Linked DNA regions of Homo sapiens: regions 1 and 3 are each linked to region 2. Evidence: promoter capture Hi-C in 16 types of primary human blood cells and fetal thymus (Javierre and others, 2016). All regions are on one chromosome and are shown on one strand. The core of a region is centred on a gene start or on the middle of the fragment in contact, and the rest is flanking DNA. Distances in the headings are between cores, read along the strand shown. Region 1 has its middle 41 kb from the start of JRKL. Region 2 holds the start of LNCRNA-IUR (lncRNA imatinib upregulated). Region 3 overlaps CCDC82 (coiled-coil domain containing 82).

Evidence for each region. Contacts are between HindIII fragments. The CHiCAGO score rates a contact against its expected background, and 5 or more counts as called.
Region 1: a fragment that was not itself captured here is called in contact with the fragment with the promoter of LNCRNA-IUR in region 2 in 11 of 17 cell types (M2 macrophages, endothelial precursors, M0 macrophages and 8 more); the score reaches 14.7 in M2 macrophages.
Region 3: a contact is called between a fragment that was not itself captured here and the fragment with the promoter of LNCRNA-IUR in region 2, in 1 of 17 cell types (erythroblasts). The highest score is 5.2, in erythroblasts.

The regions. Positions count from the first base shown.
Region 1 is chr11:96,429,465-96,433,424 of GRCh38, forward strand. No RefSeq gene overlaps it. Among named protein-coding and RNA genes, the nearest start is that of JRKL, 41 kb to the left of the region's middle. The HindIII fragment of the contact is 3,885 bases long and covers 624-3,960 here.
Region 2 is chr11:95,148,222-95,152,563 of GRCh38, forward strand. LNCRNA-IUR (lncRNA imatinib upregulated) reads left to right here and starts at 2,318. Exons shown (of 3, transcript NR_110303.1): 1 at 2,318-3,527. RefSeq lists enhancers at 2,104-2,645, 2,646-3,187, 2,788-2,917 and a silencer at 3,438-3,547. The HindIII fragment of the contact is 7,632 bases long and covers 1-4,342 here.
Region 3 is chr11:96,350,165-96,354,300 of GRCh38, forward strand. It overlaps CCDC82 (coiled-coil domain containing 82), which reads right to left. Exons shown (of 10, transcript NM_024725.4): 10 at 2,609-3,550. The coding sequence ends at 3,482. Among named protein-coding and RNA genes, the nearest start is that of MAML2, 9.0 kb to the left of the region's middle. The HindIII fragment of the contact is 826 bases long and covers 840-1,665 here.

The DNA.
Region 1 (3,960 bases), core at 1,316-3,815, 1.3 Mb after region 2:
CTATTAAAAATTGAAATAACAAAATTAATAGAAGAAAATAAATGGTTACATAATCTTAGAAAGGCAGATTTTCCAAGTATGACATCAGAGACAGAAACCAGTAAGCAGAATTTGGTTGATTTTATTGCACACTTATTAATATTGATTGAATAAATCAATATTAAACTACTGATCTTTTTAAAAAGAAAGAAATGAAACCGTGTCAACATATATAGGAAGGCAGTGTATTTTTAACATCTTTCACATAAAAGAAGTCTTATAAATCTATAAGAAAGTGACAAATATATGAAAAATGGAAAGAGAATGCCTAATTTAGAAAAAAAGCAACAGACTAACACTATGTCTCAAGAAAAAAAAGAGAAAAACAAAAACAAAAAAGTCAGAGAAAATGAAACAATGATGGCCAAAAACAGCACCAGGCAATTCAAAAAATAGGTCAAACAATTGGCCTACAATATAAAAAATTCAACTTTTCAAGTAATCACAGATAGGACATTACACATGAATGATGTGAGACAGAGTGAGATTCCATATTTTTATGTATCAAATTATAAAATATTAAAAATCAAATAATACCCTATATTGGCAAAAGTGCTTAAATGAGAGGAGGGTAAATTGGATGAAGCTTGCTTGAAAGCGTTTTAGCATATGCATTTTTTAAATTAGAAATTTACAGCTAGTAGAAGATAAGAAATAACCTAAATCACAGCTGAACTGGAAGAGATTGAGACACAAAAAAACCATTCAAAAGATGAGTGAATCCAGGAGCTGGATTTTTGAAAAAATTAATAAAATAGACCGCTAGCTAGACTAATAAAGAGAAAAAGAGAAGATTCAAATAAACACAATTAGACACAACAAAGGGATATTACCACTGACCCCAAAGAAATACAAATAACCATCAGAGAATATTATGAACTCCTCTATGCACATAAACTAGAAAGTCTAGAAGAAATGGTTAAATTCCTGAACACATACACCTCCCAAGACTGACCAGGAAGACATTGAATCCCTGAACAGACATATAATGGGATCCAAAACTGAATCAGCCTAAAATAGCCTTCCAACCAAAAAAAAAAAAAAAAAAAAAAGAAGCCCAGGACCAAACAGATTCACAGCCTGAATTCTACTAGATATACAAAAAAAGACCTGGTATTGTTCCTGCTGAAACTGTTCCAAAAAATCGAGGAGGAGAGACTCCTCCCTAACTCATTCTATGAGGCCCATATCATCCTGATACCAAAACCTGGCAGAGACACAACAGAAAAAGAAAACTTCAGGGCAATATTCTTTATGAATATTGATACAAAAATCCTCAACAAAATACTGGCAAACCGAATTCAGCAGCACATCAAAAAACTTATCCACCACTATCAAATATGCTTCATCCCCAGGATGCAAGGTTGGTTCAACATATGCAAATCAATAAATATGATTCGTCATGTAAGTGGATCTAAAGAAAAAAGCCACATGATTATATCTCAATAGATGCAGAAAATGTTTTTGGTAAAATTCAACATTTCTTCATGTTAAAAACTCTCAATAAACTAGGTATTAAAGGAATGTGACTCAAAATAATAAGAGCCACGTATGACAAACTCACAACTAATATCATACTGAATGGGCAAAAGCTGGAAATATTCCCCTCGAAAACCAGCACAAGAGAAGGATGCTCTCTCTCACCACTCCTGCCCAACACAGCATTGGAAGTCCTTGCCAGAGTAATTAAGCAAGAGAAAGAAATAAAGGGCATCCAAATAGGAAGAGAGGAAGTCAAACTATCTCTGTTTGCAGACAACATAATCATATCTAGAAAACCCCATAGTCTTGACTCAAAGGCTCCTTCAGCTGATAAAGAACTTCAGCCAAGTATCAGGATACAAAATCAGTGTACAAAAATCTCTAGCATTCCTATACACCAACAACAGTCAAGCTGAGAGCCAAATCAAGAATGCAATCCCATTCACAATTGCCACAAAAAGAATAAAATACCTATGCATACAGCTATTCAGGGAGGTGAAAGATCTCTACAATGAGAACTACAAAACACTGCTCAAAGAAATCAGAGATGCCACAAACAAATGGAAAAGCATTCCATGCTCATGGATAGGAAGAATCAATATCTTCAAAATGACAATACTCTCCAAAGCAATTTATAGATTCAATGCTATTCCTATTAAACTACCAATGACATTCTTCACAGACCTAGAAAAATGTGTTTTAAAATTCATGTGGAAATAAAAAAGAGCCTGAATAGCTAAGGTAATCCTAAACAAAAAGAACAAAGCTAGAGGCATCATGCTACCTACTTCTAACTACACTACAAGGCTATGGTAACCAAAACAGCATGGTGCTGTTACAAAAACAGACACACAGATTAAAGGAACAGAATAGAAAACCCAGAAATAAGGCAGCACACCTACAACTATCTGATCTTTGACAAATCTGACAAAGATAAGCAATGGGGACAGGACTCCCTATTCAATAAATGGTGCTGGGATAACTTGCTAGCCATATGCAGAGATTGAAACTGGACCCCTTCCTTATATCGTACACAAAATCAACCCAAGATGGATTAAAGACTTAAATGTAAAACCCAAAATTATAAAAACCCTGGAAGACGACCTAGGCAATACAATTCTGGACATAGGAACAGGCAAAGATTTCATGAAGAAGATGCCAAAGCAATTGCGACCAAAACAAAAATTGACAAATGTGATATAATTAAGCTATAGAGCTTCTGCACAGCAAAAACAAAAAACAAACAAACTCAAAACTAAAAACAACTGTCAACAGAGTAAACAGTCAAACTACAGAATGGGAGAAAATTTTTGCAAACTATGCATCTGATGAATGTCTAATGTCCAGCATCTACAAGGAACTTAAATTTACAAGAGAAAAAACAAACAACCTCATTAAAAAATGGGCAAAGGACATGAACAGACACTTCTCAAAAGAAGACATTCATGCCACCAACAAACATGAAAAAAAGCTATCACTGGTCATTAGAGAGATGCAAATCAAAACCACAATGAGATACCATCTCACACCAGTCAAATGGCAATTATTAAAAAGTCAAAAAATAACAGATGCTGGTGAGGTTGTAGAGAAAAAGGAATGCCTATACACTGTTGGCGGGAGTGTAAATTAGTTCAGCCATTGTGGAAGACATTGAGACGATTCCTCAAAGACCCAAAAACAGAAATATCATTTGACCCAGCAATTCCATGACTAGGTACATACCCAAAGAAATATAAATCATTGTATCATAAAGACACTTACATGCATATATTCATTGCAGCAATACTCACAATAGCAAAGACATGGAATCAACCTAAATGCCCATCAGTGATAGAATGGATAAAGAAAATGTGGTACATATACACCATGGAATACTATGCAGCTATAAAAAAGAATAAGATCACATCCTTTTCAGGAACATGAATAGAGCTGGAGGCCATTATCCTTAGCAAACTGATGCAGGAACAGAAAAACAAATACTGCAGATTCTCACTTATAAGTGGTAGCAAAATGATGAGAACACATGGACACAGAGGGGAACAACAGACATTGGGGCTTACTGCAAGGTGGAGGGTGGGAGGAGGCAGAGAATCAGGAAAAATAACCAGTGGGTTCTAGGCTTAACACCTGGGTGATGAAATGATCAATACAGCATACCCCCATGACACAGTTTACCTATATAATAAACCTTCACAGTTACCCCTGAACTTAAACATTAAAAACGAATACAATTAAAAATAAAACAAAATTTACATAACTTTCAATCTAGTATTTTTGTGTTTAGGAATTTATCCTAAGGAAAGAATCATGGTTATGTGCCAAGATTGTGTAACAAAGACATTGATTGTAATAACAAAACCAGCAAACAACCTAATTGCATTTAAAAAAAAATTTCAACTTCTACTTTAAGATTCAAGGGGTACACGTGCAGGTTTGCTA
Region 2 (4,342 bases), core at 1,068-3,567:
GTTTGTATACTAACTGGGCTCAGTTTATTCCCATTCTTTTTGGGGTCCCAGATGTGGGCTGGTGCTGCAGTCTTCAGAAGGCCCAAAGGTGCTGGATGTCAGGAGAGCTCACTCGGTGGGCAGTTGATGCTTGCTGTTGGCTGGGACTGTTAGCCAGAGCACCTACACATGGCTTTCCAAGTGTTCAGGCTTCTCACAGTATGGTGGCTGGGTTGGAAGAGGGAACATCCCAAAAGACTCACACAGAATGACTTAGCTTGTATGAACTAGCCTTGGAAGTCCCAGACCATCACTTTTGCCACATTCCAATGCCCAAGTAAGTCCCTGAGGCCAGCCCAGATGCAAAAGAAGGGGAATTAGATTTCATCTGTTGATGGAGGAATGGCAAGGTCATTTCTGAAGAGCAGCTGAGATGGAAAGTATTTTGTAGGCATTTATGGAAAATGCCATCTGCCACAGTAGTTACTATTAATATCTCTTTCTACACAGGAGAAAATTTCACAATGACCTAGCTAAGTTATATGATTAACCTGCTTGTTCAAGATCAGCCAGATCCAGATGTCATCTAATTTAGTAACCATTGTACTTCACTTAGGATAGTGTTCTAAAACTTTAATAAGGAAGGAGTCACCCCTTTCAAAAATGCAGTATTAGTATCAAGAATATGAAAACATAAATTCTAGTAAAATTTATAAAGTAGAAATATAAATTCTAGTAACACTTGGGATGCCATGTTCAATAAATATTACTGAAGGAGGAGCTAACATCTGCTGCACTGCTTCAGTGGTCCAGGCACTCATACACTATATATAAACTCACTTAATCCTCACAGTTATCTTTTCCCCCCAGATGAAAGTGAACTTTAGAGGGATTAAATGCCTTGCCCCAAACCAAGTAACCACTTAGCGACAGAGCCAGGGTTTGAACACAGTCATGTCTCAGTCCACATTCCATGTGCTTTCCACTGAGCTCCATGTTACAGGTTGGGCTCCCCAGGAATCAGTCTCTGAGATGACAGTAGCATGCAGGAAGTTAGCAAAAAAGTGCTCAAGGGGAACACACGTGGGGAAGGGGAAAACTCAGGATTAGGCAAAGGAGAAGGTGGGCAGGTAGAACTAGAGCCAAGCAAATGCCAGCCAGCCTTTTTGGAGGGTTTGGGTGGATAACGGACAATGTCAAAAACAGCATTAATTTTCAATCCTGGGTGGTGGAAAGACTATATATATGTATGTATATATGTATGTATGTATGTATGTGTATGTGTGTATGTATGTGTGTATGTATGTGTGTGTATGTATGTATGTATGTATGTATATGTATGTGTGTATGTGTGTGTGTGTATGTATGTATGTATGTGTGTATGTATGTATGTGTAATTTCTCTATGTCAGACACTGCTGGGTTTGTGCTCCCCTCTATAATCTACTGATTGTGGGACTTCACACGAGGTACAAAACATAAGTGACCTAATAAGCCCTCTAGACAGGGCTTCAGGGAGGAGCCAAGGCTGGCACATAGTCAGAGGGCAGGAAAAGTTCCACTCCCTCCGTGTGATTAGGAGGGCTGCTTTGTTTTCTTCCCAGGCAGAGACCTCAAAGAAAAGTGTGACTTGTGGCAATCATTGGAATGCTCTAACGGGAGGGAGCCCTAAGCTAAGGGGAGGGGCTGTATCAGCCCCGGGAGGGCGAGGGACAAAGGGGCATTGTTTCCCTGGAGGGCAGGCTGGGGCAAGGCTGACTCCACTGCCGGCCTGGGCGTGGGCAGGTTTGCTCCCGGGAGGAGAAGGCCTCCATCCTGGCCCACAATAGCCAACCCAAAACAGTTCTGGCAAAATTAAAAGACGCAGGAAAATGCCAGCGACCGTTTATTTTCTCCTAGGGTAGATGGGGGAGAAAGCAGCTCCTTTTTCTGGGCTGAATGGAGTCTCAGGGAGGGGGCTAGGTGACAGCATCGCCCTTTCCTCTCCGGCTATTGCGCACCTTCTGGAGCCTCGCTCAGCCTGCTCCCTCCGGCGTAATACGCCAATGCTGCTACCCACAACGCACAGACCAGAAACCAGGATAGACAGAAGCCTAGAATGGCCTGGCATCGAGCAGGCCCAGCGCAAACGCAAGGTCTCTTCCTCTCCTTTCGGTGAACCCCACGCCCAGTCCCGAGAGAGAGAGCGGATGCTCATTTCCGAAAGCTGGCAATCCTGCAGTGGCCACTGGAAAAATACATATACGTGTGTGTGTGTGTGTGTGTGTGTGTGTGTGTGTGTGTGCGCGCGCGCGCACACAGTGCATATCGTGCCCATCTACAAGGAAACCTGGAGGCTCCACAAACAACTTTGAGTCCCGGGAGGGCGGAGGTGGAGAGAGATTCTCCGCTTGGATAAGGGCGGCTGGATAGCCGAGTACTCTCTTTTGGGGCTGTTGGCCGTCTCCGGAGTCTCGGGAGCGCCTTGATGTCCCTTCCCAGGGCTCGGGTTCCTTTGAGAGAATCAAGAGGAAGGTGTTTTTCACTAGGACTCGCGGTGGGCCCCACCTGCCTACCGTGGCCGGCCGGGAGCTATTACAGCAGGGTCTGCCCGTCCGACGACGGCGGCTCCAATCTGGGGTCCCGCCGGCGCCGACCCCTCAGCTCTCTCCCGATACCTGCTGGCCTCTCTCATCTTTGGTGGCACTCGCCGCCACGGGGACGGTGAGATCAAAGAGGTAGACCTAGGCCAGGAGGGACTGCCAGGGCTCCTTCCCGCGGGCCAGCCTCTCGTCCTTCCTCCCGGGACGGGGCTCTTTCCCTTTCTCCGGATGCGGGCCTTTGAGAGTCAGCGACGCCTTAGACTCCTCCCAGAAAAATGCACCCTCATCTACCCAATTCTGCCCTACCCTTTGGAGCTCCTGGACCCTCTAACCGCTCGGTGGGGTCAGAGCCCACCCCCGGAAGGGCCGCTGGTCGGGGACTGGTTCGCCCTCTCCTGGCCTCCTCGGACCAGTGCGCGGGGAGGATCCCGCTAACGCCGGGCGCCTGCAGACCTTGAGCGGCCTCGCCCTGGTGACCTCCCCGGGAAAGGCTGGGCGGTGCTTCCACAATGAGGGCCACCTGTTAATTTGCACGAGAAAGTGCTGCCGAGGGCCCACACGTGCGAATCCACCTGTGGAGTGCGTCCCCTCTCTGGGGCCAAGGCCTAGGGGAGGCCGAAGCGGAGAAGTTGCCTGAAGACTGGGAAGTAAGAGTAGGGGCGTCGGAGGAATCGAAGTTGCAGTGACATCAGGCTCGGACAGCCGGCGGACTCCTCGCAAGGTGATCGGATACTTCCGAGAGCCCCACAGTCCTCCTGGGCCTTTGCCCTCGCGTCTGGGATGCGCTCGGGCGCCCCCAGTCTGCGATGCGTTCGTACCTCCAGTAGGGTGACGTTTTCGCCGGGCCCCTCTGCGAACAGTCTCCGCCCTCCTCCACTGTGAGATATTTCACAGTTTCACCCGCAGAGGGCAACCTTATTCCAAGTTCCCGAGCGCCCTAGGCCTCTTTCTCCTCCCTGCCTAACTGGTGAGGTGGGACTTCAATGCCTTTTAGGTTTACAGTCTTTTCCTCCCCACGGCTTCTCTTTCCTCCCCGTCTCAGGCACTGGGCATTTCCAGTCGATCCAGCAGGTCTGGCTTCTCTCACATATGCAGTAAGGGTTAGGGGAGAAGGTCCCAGCTCCTCTTGTCTCTAGCAGAGTGTAAACTGGCTCTGCTGAGGAGGTGGCTGTGCTTTTATTCCTTCTCCTGAGAACTGTTTATATATTAAGGAGCTTCACAGCCTCCAACATAAGGAAAGCAGGTAGGAACTGATCATATAACGCTTTGTAAATGTTTTAGACTTTGGCTTTAATGGGAAAGAAATGGGGAGCCATTCGTGGGTTTTTGAGCAGCAGGTGGACATTGCTTTTCATAATGACCACGCCAGCTGCTGTTTGGAGAATAGACTGTAGGGGTCACTGCGCAAATTGGAGGCCGCGATCCAGGTGAGAACCAGGTGAAACAGAGCTCGGGCCATGGAGTGGCGCTGGAGGTAAGGAGAAACACTCAGACTCTGGGTATGTTTTTTGAAAGTAGGATAAAAGGCCGGGCGCGGTGGCTCACGCCTGTAATCCCAGCACTTTGGGAGGCCAAGGTGAGCGGATCAAGAGGTCAGGAGATCGAGACCATCCTGGCTAACACGGTGAAACCCCGTCTCTACTAAAAAAAAAAAAAAAAAAAAATTAGCAGGGAGTGGTGGCAGGTGCCCGTAGTCCCAGCTACTCGGGAGGCTGTGGCAGGAGAATGGTGTGAACCTGGGAGGCAGAGCTTGCAGTGAGCCGAGATGGCGCCACGGCACTC
Region 3 (4,136 bases), core at 3-2,502, 1.2 Mb after region 2:
ATACCCAAAGGAATATAAATCATTCTATTATAAAGATATGTGCACATGTATGTTCACTGCAGCACTATTCACAATAGCAAAAACACAGAATCGACCTAAATGCCCATCAATGATAGAGTGGATAAAGAAAATGTGGTACATAAACACCAGGGAATACTATGCAGTCATAAAAAGAAATGAGATCATGGCCTTTGCAGGGACATGGACGGAGTTGGAAGCCATTTTCCTCAGCAGACTAATGCAGGAATAGAAAACCAAACATCGCACCGTCTCACTTGTAAGTGGGAGCTGAATGATGAGAACATATGGACACATGGTGGGGAACAACACACACTGGAGCCTGTTGGTGGTTGGGTTGGGGGATGGGGAGCATCAGGAAGAATAGCTAATGGATGCTGGGCTTAAAACCTAGGTGATGGGATGATCTGTGCAGCAAACCACCATGGCACACATTTACCTATGTAACAAGCCTACACATCCTACACATGTATCCCGGAAGTTAAAATAAAAGTTGAAGAAAAAAGACTGACTTCCACCTTAATCACTAGTCTGGCTGCCTCAATAGCAAGTATGAAAGGAGTTATGGGGGAGCCAAACTATCTCCAAAGTAGCTCAAAGCTGCTCAAAGGCTGCAGTCTATCCCTCAGTGAACACTCTGGAATCTAAGTAAGTCCTATAATACCTCCTGGGAATGAGTACTATATAGATCTACTCATCTGAATATGAGCAGACAAGTCAGGAAATGTGGCCAATTGCATCCAACTGCCTGTACAATAAACATTTATTTTCCCTTGTTTTTTCCTGTCTTATGGTTTTGTTCCCTCTCTTCATAACCCTAAAGCTTCTGTATAGCCCTGTGATTTCTTTCTAGAATTACTTTCCTTTTACTTGTCCATTTCTGTCTTCCTCATCATCTCTGCTATCAATAGCTACCTAACACTAAAGCACCTAACACTGTAGTAATAAATGACCAAATCTAAAAAATTTACAGTCATGTGAAATGATATGTGAAATAAATGAGCTTAAAAACTATTTTTGTAATTAGCTGGGCATGGTGGTGCACACCTGTAGTCCCAGCTACTTGGGACGCTGAAGCAGGGGAATCGGTTGACCTTGGGAGGTGGAGGTTGCAGTGAGTGAGATCGCCCCACTGCACTACAGCCTGGCAACAGAGCGAGACTCCATCTCAAAAAAACAAAAACAAAAACAAAAAAAACCTGTTTTTGTGTTGTTATTGAATCAATGATATTGATGATGATGATGATAATGATAAAATAATATGTCCTAATACCTGTAAAGGTTAATTCTATTTCTCAACATTTCCATTTTCTTATGAACTACTTGCTTTTTGCCCCCTAATACATGTTAATTCTCACTTCCTAACAGCCTTTTTGCCATTCTTTTAATGTTACCACGACCTTAGAGCCTCTTGTATTCTCCAAATTCCTACAAAGTAGCATGCTTGGTTGCAATGACCTTAGACATCAAACTACCTATAAGCATTTTATGATCAACAGGCAGCTGTTCCAATAGGAAAAGTGCTTCAAGCCAACAAGATGGTTGATCCAGATAAGTCCTTGGAATTATTAGTGCCTTAATTTACAAATTAACTGCATGCTGTTAAAAGTAAGAGATATATTTTAAGATTACTCTTCAGCCATCTCAAGCTTGTCTGTAATGTCCCATATGAGAACTGATGCTTCTAGGTAATTGGAGATACTTTAGAGATCCTTTTTTTTTTTTCATTTCTTCTGGCCTTCCTTTTTATAAATCATTTGTGATCCTTTACCCTTCCTCCTTGACTGTCACTTCTAACTCTGCCTTGCTTTTTTTGTGGACACTGTCCCTTCATCTTCACCTTTCAATTACGACTTTATTTTTATTCCTTGGAATTTAGTTAAGAATTATTTTGCAATATGCCAGGGAAATATGAATAAGTATACAGATATGTAGGGCAGACACAGTGGCTCATGCTTGTAATCACAGGACTTTGAGAAGCCAAGGTGGGTGGATCACCTGAAGTCAGGAGTTCAAGACCAGCGTGGCCAACATGGTGAAACCCCATCTCTACTAAAAAATGCAAAATTAGCCAGGTGTGGTGGCGCATGCCTGTAATCCCAGCCACTCAGGAGGTTGAGGTGGGTGAGTCGCTTGAACCCGGGAGGCGGAGGTTGCAGTGAGTAGAGATCATGCCATTGCACGCCAGCCTGGGTGACAAGAGCAAGACTCCATCTCAAATTAAAAAAAAATACAGATATGTGAAATTTCCATTTCACAATGTTTGAAAAAGGTATGCACTCCTCATTAAACATTAAACATCAGCATCAGTACTGTTACCACAATTGTGAGTTTTTTCCACCCCATTTGTTTACAATAATAATACGGATAATTTCAGGAAATGAATTGTAGAAAATATTAACTCATTTCCATATATGAGCTTAATGTAGCTTTTTATGGATACGTACACTACGGTCCATGCCATGAGTCGCATAATAGATGAATCCAAGTTCAACCAAGACTTCCATTAAGAAAAAATTATCTAAAGGATAGATCCTACTAGAATACCACTTTTAAGAATTAAAAATATAGAACACACAGGGTTCATTTGTTCACTCTGCAACCATTTTACTTTATTACTTTATGGGAAAATTTAGATATGCAAAGCAATGCAGATACCAAAATATGCTTTCCAAGTGTTTTTGGCTGAGTTTGTCTCTTTCAGCAGTTCTGACCCTAAGATACATACTTATATGGAAAAAGCTATGGATAAAAATAAATAAAATACATCTTAATCATCAATATATAGACAAAATTGAATAGAAAAAAGTAAGAACATTATAAAGCATGAAAATTTACATAAAATTATTCCTGAATGTGAGGGTTGAAAGACTCTAGAGGCCTGAAATCTATTTGAAAGAGAAACTTTCAAGAAAAGGAAAAAAGCATTCCTCTACTTAGAATAGATATGCTATGATCTGATTCTGAAGCAATGGGATTGAACTGAATGATATATGAGGTTTCTTCCATGGCCCACTGATTTAGATGATAGCAGTAAAAAATATATTAGTGAAAATCATTTAATACTGTAAAAGAATAAACAGATCTGGACAGGAATTCCGTAAAAATACATGTAGACGTTAGTCTAAATACATTTTTAAGATACAATATATTTTGACTAAACTGACAGGATATCAACAGCTCATTCACTTGACAGTCATCTGTTATAAAGCCATTATTATATAACTTTAAAATATATTTACAGACTTAAAAATTAAGATAATGCTTTTATGTACATCAGATAAAAGTTTAATTAGAGTGTAGAGTGCCACTTCACAGGAATTAAGATAATCATGTTTTAAACAAAATATTTTGCCATGAAGATATAGATAAAATGTACAAACATGTCACATGATACAGAAAAACAAGAATCATGATCTTCACATTTACAGGAATTTAAAAAATCTTCTCTGATGGAAATGTGTTACAACTCAAACTTCTCTTCTTGAAAGTAATCCGCAAAATTGAGATATTCTTCAAGTTGACCATATTTCTGCATATACAATAGAAAAGCTAGTTATTTTACTCAAAGCAATGAAGACAAACTGGGCCTTTGCAAACTACAGACACAATTAGGATAAGTCCATTTCATGGTAATCGTGAACAAAAATCTTTTTATGATAAACAGGAACTTAATTTCAAATAAGCATTCCTAACTCATATATAACTCATATATTTCCATATAGAAAGCATTGGAAAGTGATCAAAGTGAATATTATTAATTTTATAACTGTGTTTTAAATTATAATTTTTATATTATCATGATTACAGTAGAAATGTAGTAACCTCAATAACTTAATAAAAAGTTTGTTGAACATATATATCAAAGGCTCTGCTAATGACTGTCTAGGTACAGTGTTTTTTAAAAGATACTTTTCCTGCCCCTAAGGAGAATACAGTTCAGTAGTAATACACCAATAACAATCAGTAATAAGTGCCAAAGAGGTACAGACACTGTTATGAGGGTTCAGAAGATAGGTCATGGTTAGTTGAGGTAAGCAGTAAAGAGTGGCATTTAAGTTGTCCTGGAAAAACAGATTTGGTAGGCAAAGAGTTGGTGGCAAGACTTTTCAGTAAGA